3 separate regions of the Homo sapiens genome follow, and all the other regions are linked to region 3. The links are contacts of gene promoters, found by promoter capture Hi-C in blood cells and fetal thymus (Javierre and others, 2016). All regions are on one chromosome and are shown on one strand. Each heading gives the region's core, a stretch centred on a gene start or on the middle of the fragment in contact. The rest is flanking DNA. Distances are from core to core; before and after follow the strand shown.

What was found. Contacts are between HindIII fragments. The CHiCAGO score rates a contact against its expected background, and 5 or more counts as called.
Region 1: the fragment with the promoter of CD99L2 here is called in contact with a fragment that was not itself captured in region 3 in 1 of 17 cell types (activated CD4 T cells); the score reaches 6.2 in activated CD4 T cells.
Region 2: the fragment with the promoter of MTMR1 here is called in contact with a fragment that was not itself captured in region 3 in 1 of 17 cell types (non-activated CD4 T cells); the score reaches 5.7 in non-activated CD4 T cells.

What each region holds. Positions count from the first base shown.
Region 1 is chrX:150,897,278-150,900,127 of GRCh38, forward strand. It overlaps CD99L2 (CD99 molecule like 2), which reads right to left and starts at 1,391. Exons shown (of 11, transcript NM_031462.4): 1 at 1,245-1,391. The coding sequence starts at 1,311. RefSeq lists a silencer at 1,066-1,675. The HindIII fragment of the contact is 7,642 bases long and covers 331-2,850 here.
Region 2 is chrX:150,692,064-150,694,865 of GRCh38, forward strand. It overlaps MTMR1 (myotubularin related protein 1), which reads left to right and starts at 1,333. Exons shown (of 16, transcript NM_001306144.3): 1 at 1,333-1,613. The coding sequence starts at 1,468. RefSeq lists silencers at 1,264-1,333, 1,644-1,783 and enhancers at 2,677-2,776, 2,797-2,802. The HindIII fragment of the contact is 7,697 bases long and covers 1-2,802 here.
Region 3 is chrX:149,507,821-149,510,787 of GRCh38, forward strand. No RefSeq gene overlaps it. Among named protein-coding and RNA genes, the nearest start is that of IDS, 4.0 kb to the left of the region's middle. RefSeq lists an enhancer at 2,613-2,967. The HindIII fragment of the contact is 2,349 bases long and covers 472-2,820 here.

The DNA.
Region 1 (2,850 bases), core at 141-2,640, 1.4 Mb after region 3:
CCGGACCAGGATGTAAGCTCCATGAAGACAGTCTCAATTTTGTTCACTACCGCATCATCAGTTCCTAGAACAGAGCCTGGCACCTCTGCAGAATGTTAAATGGCTCTTCGTGAATCAACTCCAGGTGGGTTGCCCACATGAAAAACATTTCTGCATCTTTTGCAAAAGTGGCTTGGCTAGTACCATCCACTGTTTTCCAGTGTTCCTTTATGTGACATAAATCTTACTAGAACTCAGTACTAGGACAAAGTGTGTGTGTGTGTGTGTGTGTGTGTGTGTTTCCTGAGCTCACATATTTTCCACCAGCTGGGTTCGCTTCTATTGTCAGGAAGCTTGGAGCATAATTCACGTTCAATTACAGTGTTTCCCTTAATCCCTTTTTCTGATGGGGACATAGGATATAAATAAGTGTAAGAAGATTCTGTTGGTACATGTTTAAGACCCTATTTTTAACCACAGACTGCATTTATTCTACTAAGATGCTTCTCAAACTTGAATGTGCCAGAGAATCACCCGCGGATCTAGTTGAAATGCAGAATCAGACTCAGTAGGTCGGGGGCGGGGCGTGAGATGCTGCAGTTCTTACAAGCTCCCAGGTGATGCCTATGCGGCTGGGCCCTGGACCACATTTTGAGTAGCAGAGGGTCTAAGAAACGTGCTTCCTTGATTCAGCGGGATTTCTCTCTCCTGCTCCTTGGCAAAACATGACCAAAGTCTCAAAAACTGAAGCGGACGGCAGAAGCACCTAGAGAGCTGGTTAGACCTACGCCTCGCTGACCCCCCCCCCCCCCCCCCACAGCCCATGCCCGCTGTGATCCCGATGAAAGGGGCTAGGAATCCACCTAGGAAGTTCCCCAGGTGCTTCTGCTGTCGGTGGCCTCGCAGCAAATTTCGAAAATGACTGCTCTCTTCAAGGTTTTCTCAAAGGTAAACTCTTGGGGACAGCTGTTGTCACCAGTGGTACACCTGCTCGTTCAGGATTTTAGGGGGCCCATCCCGCTGTTTCCAGCCCAGCGTCAGGAGGGGACCCACCCCTCCTCTCCGGCTACTCCGACCGCGGCGGAGTCAACCCCCACGGGCCCGGGGCTCGGACCCCCGCCGCTCCGCCTCGCACAGCCGGGCCGGCCGGTGGCAGCCACCGCAGGCCCGAGAGGCGGGGACCGTGCCGCTCATGCGCAGAGCGACCCCTGGGCCCACAAGGCGGGGTCCCCGCGCGGTCCCCGCGCGCCCCCCGCCCGCCTTACCTCGCTGGACCAGGGTGGCCAAGGAGAAAGCGAGGCAGACAAGGAACGCCGAGCGCCAGGCCACCATGGCTGGGAGCAGGCGGAGGGCCCCGGAGGAGCACAGTTAGCGCGAGAGCGCCCGAAGGGGAGGCCGAGGAGGAGCGGGAGGAGGAGCCCCGCCGCCTCTGCAGGGTCCCGCCCAAAGCCCGCGCGCGCGCGCGGCGCGGCCCCGGGAAGATGGAGGTCGGGCGCGCTAGAGAGCCGGCGCCTGAGGGCGCCTGGGCTGGGGTTAGGCCGGGGGGCGGGGCGAGGCTGCAGTATCGGGGGCGGGGCCGCGTTCTGGAGGCGGGGCTCCGGGCGAGGGGCGTGGCCTGCGGGCACCCGGTGGGTGGGGAGGCCTGGGTTGGGTTGGGCTGGGTCCAGCGGCAGCGCGCGGTCCGCAGACCCTGTCCCACCTCGGTCCTCGAGACCGAAGTCTCGGAGGTGGCCCCGCGGACCTGGAGCAGTGAGTCACCAGTGCCGGGGAGCGGGAGGCGGCAGCGCCGGTGGGCGCCGATTTCCTCCCGGGTGACCTTGAGAAGGGCTCTTCCCCTTCTGGCCTTGGTGTTCTCCCGGTGAAGGGTTGTTCCCTTGGGGCCCCTCCAGACACCGTCCAGCACGGAGCCCCGCACTCTGTCCCCACCCGCTGTTCCCTGCAGGAGTGAAACCCTGGCCGGAGACTGAAGAAAAGGACCGTTTTCGTGACTGGCTGCGGTCAACAAGCAGTGACACGTCTCGAGAAAACGAGGCCGGGGGCGCCCGGGTGGGCGACAGGGGAGGATGGGGGCGTCCCGGAGCCGAAGCGCCGCGGGCTCGGGAGACTGGGGGTAGGGACTGGGTCAGCTCTCCCGAGGCTTTGATGAATGCGCTGAAAGTGCAAGTTCATATCTGCAGAGTCGATCTCAAAAACGTGCTTAATGACCGACAAACGCGCTGCAGTCCTTTCCCATGAACCCCCGCAAACGGAGTCCGTCTCCCAGACCCGAAGAAATCAGATTCCGATACGATACTGTGCCGACCAGCAAAATGCCCGCTGCAGCAGTTGATGGGAACGCTCCCTAGAAGAGCCCCAGCTGCAACCGGCTCTCGAAGACAAAGAGGAAGCGCTACTGCTCTCCGGAGTGGTAGCGTGAGCCTGTCCCTGCCATTATGCGGCACCGGCTGCCCAGGGCCACATCCTCCTTAGAGGGCGGCTACTACCACCTCCCCTCAATATCCATTCGGCAGCTTTCCTGTGCCCCCAACCCAGCCCTCGCTGCCATAGGCACCCCCCTCAGTGGCTCCCACCAACCCCTAAGGAACAGTGGGGTGTGGGGTCTCCCTGAGATGGAGCCGAAATCTCCCGTGTGGCTTACATCCATTGCCCTGAATCTTAGGGCTGCAGAAACAAAACAGCATATGAGGAGTGGATCTTCCCAGGCTCAGGGCATTAATTACTCTATGAATGGAACATTATTCCATTCTAGCTGTAGAATTAACAGAAATAGCTGGTAGTTATTGAACACACACTATACACATGGCATATTCCAGGCATTTTACCCTTAATTTTTATTCCTCACAATGCCTTATGTATCATCACCTATTAACG
Region 2 (2,802 bases), core at 83-2,582, 1.2 Mb after region 3:
GTGTGCATGTGAGTGCATGAGATCAAGCTCTCTGGTGACCCTTCTTAAAAAGCACCAGTTCCATCAGACTAGAGCTTGGCCCTCATGACCTAATTGCCTCTCAAAGACCCCATCTCCAAATACCATCACACAGGGAATTAGGGCTTCAACATATGGACTTCAGGGGGATGAAAACATTCAGTCCATAACAGTGGGTTAACCATTTGATTTAATAATTTTAGAAAGCCAGCAACCTGCAGTCGGTGATTCTCCAGTGTGAGATAGGAGCTATTATTGTCTGGGGATCTTCCTTTCCTTCCTCCTAGCCCTCCTCACTCTGTCATCTTCTTACCCCAGGCTCACCTCCTCTTGTGCGTAAGATGGCTGTCGGGGCTTCAGGCATCATATCCTCAAAGTTCAGTTTGAAGTTATTAAGCTGGTGGGGCAGGATGGGTCTGGGATGGGCATGAGTAACTCCCTGTCTGCAGATCTGCCTTTTAACAGTGAGCAAATTGTTCCCTTTATATCTTCTTTTCCAGACCTGGGTCGCAGGCCTCCTGTCTACACCCAGAGCAATCACAGGCAAAGAGGCTTAATCACGAGCCACACACCCACTCCCAACTTAATCAGGGGTGAGGTGAGAGGGGATGAGCTGTTGGATATTCGAACCCAAACAAAATGAGCAAGGAAATAAATCTAGCCCAGAAAGCAAATGTCCTAAATGCCTCACCAAGATATTGGCTTGATGTTCATAGCAGTGATTTTTTAATCAACAGAAGTTAAATGTTACTCTTAACATAAACCATGGGCGGAAGCTCCGAGGGCGGCATCAGAACACTTGGTTGCCCTACAGATGGCAAGGGGGTGGGTTTGTGGCGGGGCGGCGGGGTGCGTATGGAGGGGGAGAGTGGAGGGAAGAATGGGGTGGGGAGGAATTGCTAAAATGCACGGAATTGCTCCTGCTTCAAGATGTCAAGACCGAGGGAGCTTGAGCTGTTCTATACCTTTTCCGGGAAGGACAACTGAGGTGGGAAATCATTTTTGATACTTGAATGTCTTCAAACTTCTTTTTACACCCCACGTCTCTGCAGTCAACCCGGTGTGACTATAGAGTGAAGCACGCTACGCATAATCCGTTTGGGGATTCCGAACCCCAGTGGCTCTGTACGCACCCAGGTCGCTGGAGCAGGAGGTCCCAGATCCCCGCTGTAAGGCTCCGTGGGCGAGCGCCCAGGTGGGGCTGGGCGAGGTGGGGGTTCCCGGCGCCGGCCCCGCGCGCCGCCCTCCCCGCCCCCGCTCCCGCCCCCCGACCCCCGCGCGCGCGGCCTTGTGGGTAACGCGGGGCCGCCAGGTGACAGCTAATGGCGGCGGCCGCCTGAGGCGGGCGGGCGGTATAGAGCGGGCGGCAGGAGGCAAGCAGCGAAACCTTCCCGGCCGCCGCTCCCGTCCCGACGGCGGCTTCCCCAAGGCGGCAGGACTCGGCGCGCCATGGACAGGCCGGCGGCGGCGGCGGCGGCGGGCTGCGAGGGCGGCGGGGGCCCGAACCCGGGGCCGGCGGGCGGCAGGAGGCCTCCTCGGGCCGCGGGGGGCGCCACCGCCGGCTCCCGGCAGCCCAGCGTGGAGACCCTGGACAGGTAAGCGGGGCCCGGGCTGCCCCGGCCTCCCGCGCCCCGACTCCCGAGGGCCCCGCGCGAGGCCAGCCCGCCCCCTCCCCGCGCGCTGCGCAGGGCCTGGCGGTGGCGGGGTGGGCGGCCCCTCTTCATCCCCTCTGGGCCCTCCTCCCCCCCACCCCCGGAAACCTCAGCGCCCCATCCGGGGACTGCTGCCCTCGGACCTGCTGCGGGCCGCGCACCTGGCTCACTTCCGCCCCGAGAGCCCCAGCTCCTGGAACCCCGGGAGGGGCTTCGCAGCTGTCAAACCACTTCCGGCGCCGCCACCTGCTGCCCTTGGCGATCGCTTGGCTGTCCCTGCCCAGGCCACCAATCCTCTTGGGAGGGAGATCCCACCCGGGCTCTCCTCTTCTAGCATCACCTTGCCTCGTGTGGTTTTAAGACCCCAATTCTGCTGTGGCTGCTTAGGGTCTTTGATGGGGGGTTGGGAGTGAGGACGGGGAGATGGGACCCCGCGGGCGTGGGAGCTGGTGCAGATCGAGGCAAAAATCTGAGATGGAAAACGTCCAAACTGCTCAGGAGGCAAGAAAACAGAACCATTTACTTTCAGTTCTTCACACTTTGAGGGAACCAGTTTATTGTTTTCATGAACACACAAGCAAGCCTACTGCTTCTGAGGCAGCTGCAGAACTAAGAGAAATCAGTTAGAAACATAAAGTGACCGTGTCGAACTGGGAGGGGCCACCGCCTCCTCCGACGACAAGAGATGGCCTATCGTGTAACCCGGAACATCCAGTTTTCCCACAACTTGGCCATTTCCCTGACACCAGAGTGCACTCAGGCAGCATGCACTGTTGGAATGTAGCTCAGTCAGTTTTACATGCCCATTCCTGCCTGTCTTGGTCATCCCATTGTGCCAAACTTTTGGGAGTTTCCAAAAGCACAGAAACAAGAAACATTCCCTTCACTTTTGTTTCTACCTCAGTGTAATTACAATATATTTTAATAAATTAATCACCCAAGTGGTTAGTGTCACTGAAAACCAGTCACAGCTAAGACAGCACTTGAAATGGTGAGGACTTCACTCATCTGCAAATATTCAACCACACACGAGGTCTGGGCGATTCAGAGAATAGCACAACACGGCTTTTGCTGCCTTACCATTTTGCTAGACTTACCATCTAGTGGAGAATACAAACCAACCAACAGTGGA
Region 3 (2,967 bases), core at 396-2,895:
GGGGCTCATAGCAGCAGAAGGACAAGAGTGGGAGCAAGTGGAGAGAGCCAGTAAGAGAGCAGTTCAGGTGGCTGACAGTGGTTAAGAAGACTGGTGGACTGGGGACAAACAAAGATCTAGGAGATGGGTGAGGATATAGAGAGGCAGCAAGGGTGTGAGAGTACTGGTTTTAGTCCCAGAATGAGACCCTGAAATTTAAGATTTCTGAGGTAAAACAGATCCTGGTGATTTAAAGGTCAAGGATGTGGCCTTGAAGCTGGGAGGCTGAGGTGGGGGGGAAGAGATTGCTAGAGGTTAGAGATGAGGAAGAAGTCAAGGGTCTGTGAGTGGCACAGGCTGCTGATGAATACACTGCAGTCCCCCAGAATGATGACAGGACACAGGGTACCAAGGTCACCTGTGAGCCTGGTACCTGAGTCTTCAGTGAATGAGGGATAAGGGCCAATCAATGCTATGTAACAAATGACCACAAGCTTAGTGGCTGTAAACACTACTCATTTGTCACCTCCTACTTTCTGTGGGTCAGAAATCCAGGCACAGCTAAGCTGGGTCTTAGGTTCAGGGTCTCAAAAGGCTGCAGTGAAGGACTACATTCTCACTTAAAGCTCGGGATTGTGGATAGCACAATCCACAGGTGCTCAAGTCCTTTATATAAGATGGTGCAGTGTTTACATATAACATACATACACATCCTCCCGTATACTTTACATTACCTCTAGATTACTTATAATCCCTAATACAATGTAAGTGCCATGTAAATAGTTATTATACTGCATTATTTATGAAATAATGACAAGGGAAAAAAGTCTGTACATGTTCACTGCAGAGACAACCACCCATCTTTTTCAAATTCAACAGGTGGTTGAATCCACAGATGTGGAACACATGGATAAGGAGGCTGATTGTAGTACATTCTACCCATACACAAGGGGTCACATACACTAGGAGGCAGGAAACTTGGGGGCCATCTAGAATGGCATCTACCACAAAAGAGCCCTATCTTGAGTCTCAACTCCAACAGATAACAGAAAATTTAATCTAGTCAATTCCACATTTTCCCAGTTACTTCGGGATTGTCTTACTAATTACCAATTATTGTTATCAAGCAATTTAGGATTGTCTCCTTTGCCCCAGCCTATCACCTAAATTCTGTGAGACTCTTAAATTCGGAGAGAGAGAGCAAGAGAGAAGAGAATCTGCTTGTTGTCAATGGCAACCTGTCCATGCCAGCATCCACTCCCAATGTACAATCCCATCCAGCGCTCAGAGATGGCATACCTTCATGCTGTCTTCCAATGTGGTGTCGTCATTCTAACCTGGTTCCTAGCTGCACAGTCCATGCCATTTTCTATGTGACATTTTTTGGAGACGTGCTCTCCCTCTCGCTCTCTCTCTCCCCCTCTCCCTCTCCCTCTCTCCCTCTTTCTCTTTCCCTCTTTCTCTCTCCCTCCCTCTCTTACCTCCTTGGAGGCACGGGAAAATTCAACTGCTTTCCCATGCCACTTTAGTGTCACAGGAAGCTCAGGGGACTGCTCCAGACACTTCTGCAGCTAAGATATGTGGATTTGGTGTGAGAGGAGTTCTAGGACTCTGGACCTTCTAGGGTACCATACAGCAAAGGGAGTCCCCTTGCTCTTGGACTTCTACCCTACCCCCGCCTTTGAGCCTAACTCCAGGAGGAGGGGACAATGCACACTGGCAAATTGGTATATAGTCCCACACAATGGTAGGATGAGGATTCAGGGGAGAATTCAAGATTTGTCTCTCATTCCAGATCCAGGGATCCTTGGATGGGCACCCCTCAAGGGCAGGCTCTGCCCTGTCCATTTACTACTGTATCCCAGGGGCTAGTACCTTCGTGGGGTTTCAAGGGCTCGGGATGAGAACCATGATGAGAACTACCTGGATGAGGAAAGGGAGTGTCCCAGGCTGTCCTCAGCCCAATGCCAGTGAGGGCTCTCTCCCCTGCAGAGTCATAGGGAGGGCCCTGGGCTCTGTAGGCACGTGAAATGGTGTTCCAAGGAGGAGTCTAACGTGGGCTGTGAATGTTACCCAAATGCGCTGGGCACGGAGGGCACTGTTCCCAGAAGAGACTATCTCAAGGTGCGTGAGGCAACGTGCTAGAACTCTGCTCTCAATCTGAACTCTGGAGAGTATAGATGGTCATCCATAGGCATCTAGTTCCGTAGCCAGGTCTGTGCTACCCTGAGGACTAAGGTGCAGCAGTAGCAGCCCTAGGCTCCCTGGGGTTCCAGAGGAGTGAAAGTGAATGGCAACACAGCCAGAATCTGATTCTGTTTTACTTCCCAGGAAGAAGTGAAGCCGCATGGAGCATGAGGGGGCAGCCAAGGGGCTGGGCATCACAGAAGCCCTGACATTTGCTGGGCTCCTACCCTGCATCACATACTATATCAAAAACTTTAGGAGCTGAGATATTCTCTCACAATGGAAGAGGTTAGTCTCAGTCCCGTTTGCCTGTGGACATCTTGCATCGTCCTCTGAACAATCTTTCCCTTCCTTCCTCTTCTTTCCAGTTCTCGTCCCACCGTCTTCCCTCTCTTCTTTTCTTTTTTTTTCTCCCCTCAAGCCCAAGACTTTCCTGTCATGCCAGGCAATGATTCAGCCACTTCAGTTCTGGGTGGATGGATAGGCAGGGCTTAGAGCAGGCAACCCTCATGCTGTCAAAGCCAAAAAGTAGAGGAATTATAAAAGCCTCCACCAGGGGTTGCCTAAGCTCTGGTGTTTTGCCCCCACTACTTTAAAGGCGATTCGTTTAAAACAAAACAAAACGAAAAACAACAACTTACTTTGTAAAGCATAAGCTTAAAATAAGAAAAACAGAAGTGCCTAATCAGATCTTTGGAAGTATTGCATTGCACTGTCACTGAGTGATGTATGACTGGCTGTCTTTCTGTTTGGACTGCATTCATCTGAATGGAGTGGGTACATTGGCTACCGCCTTTTCTC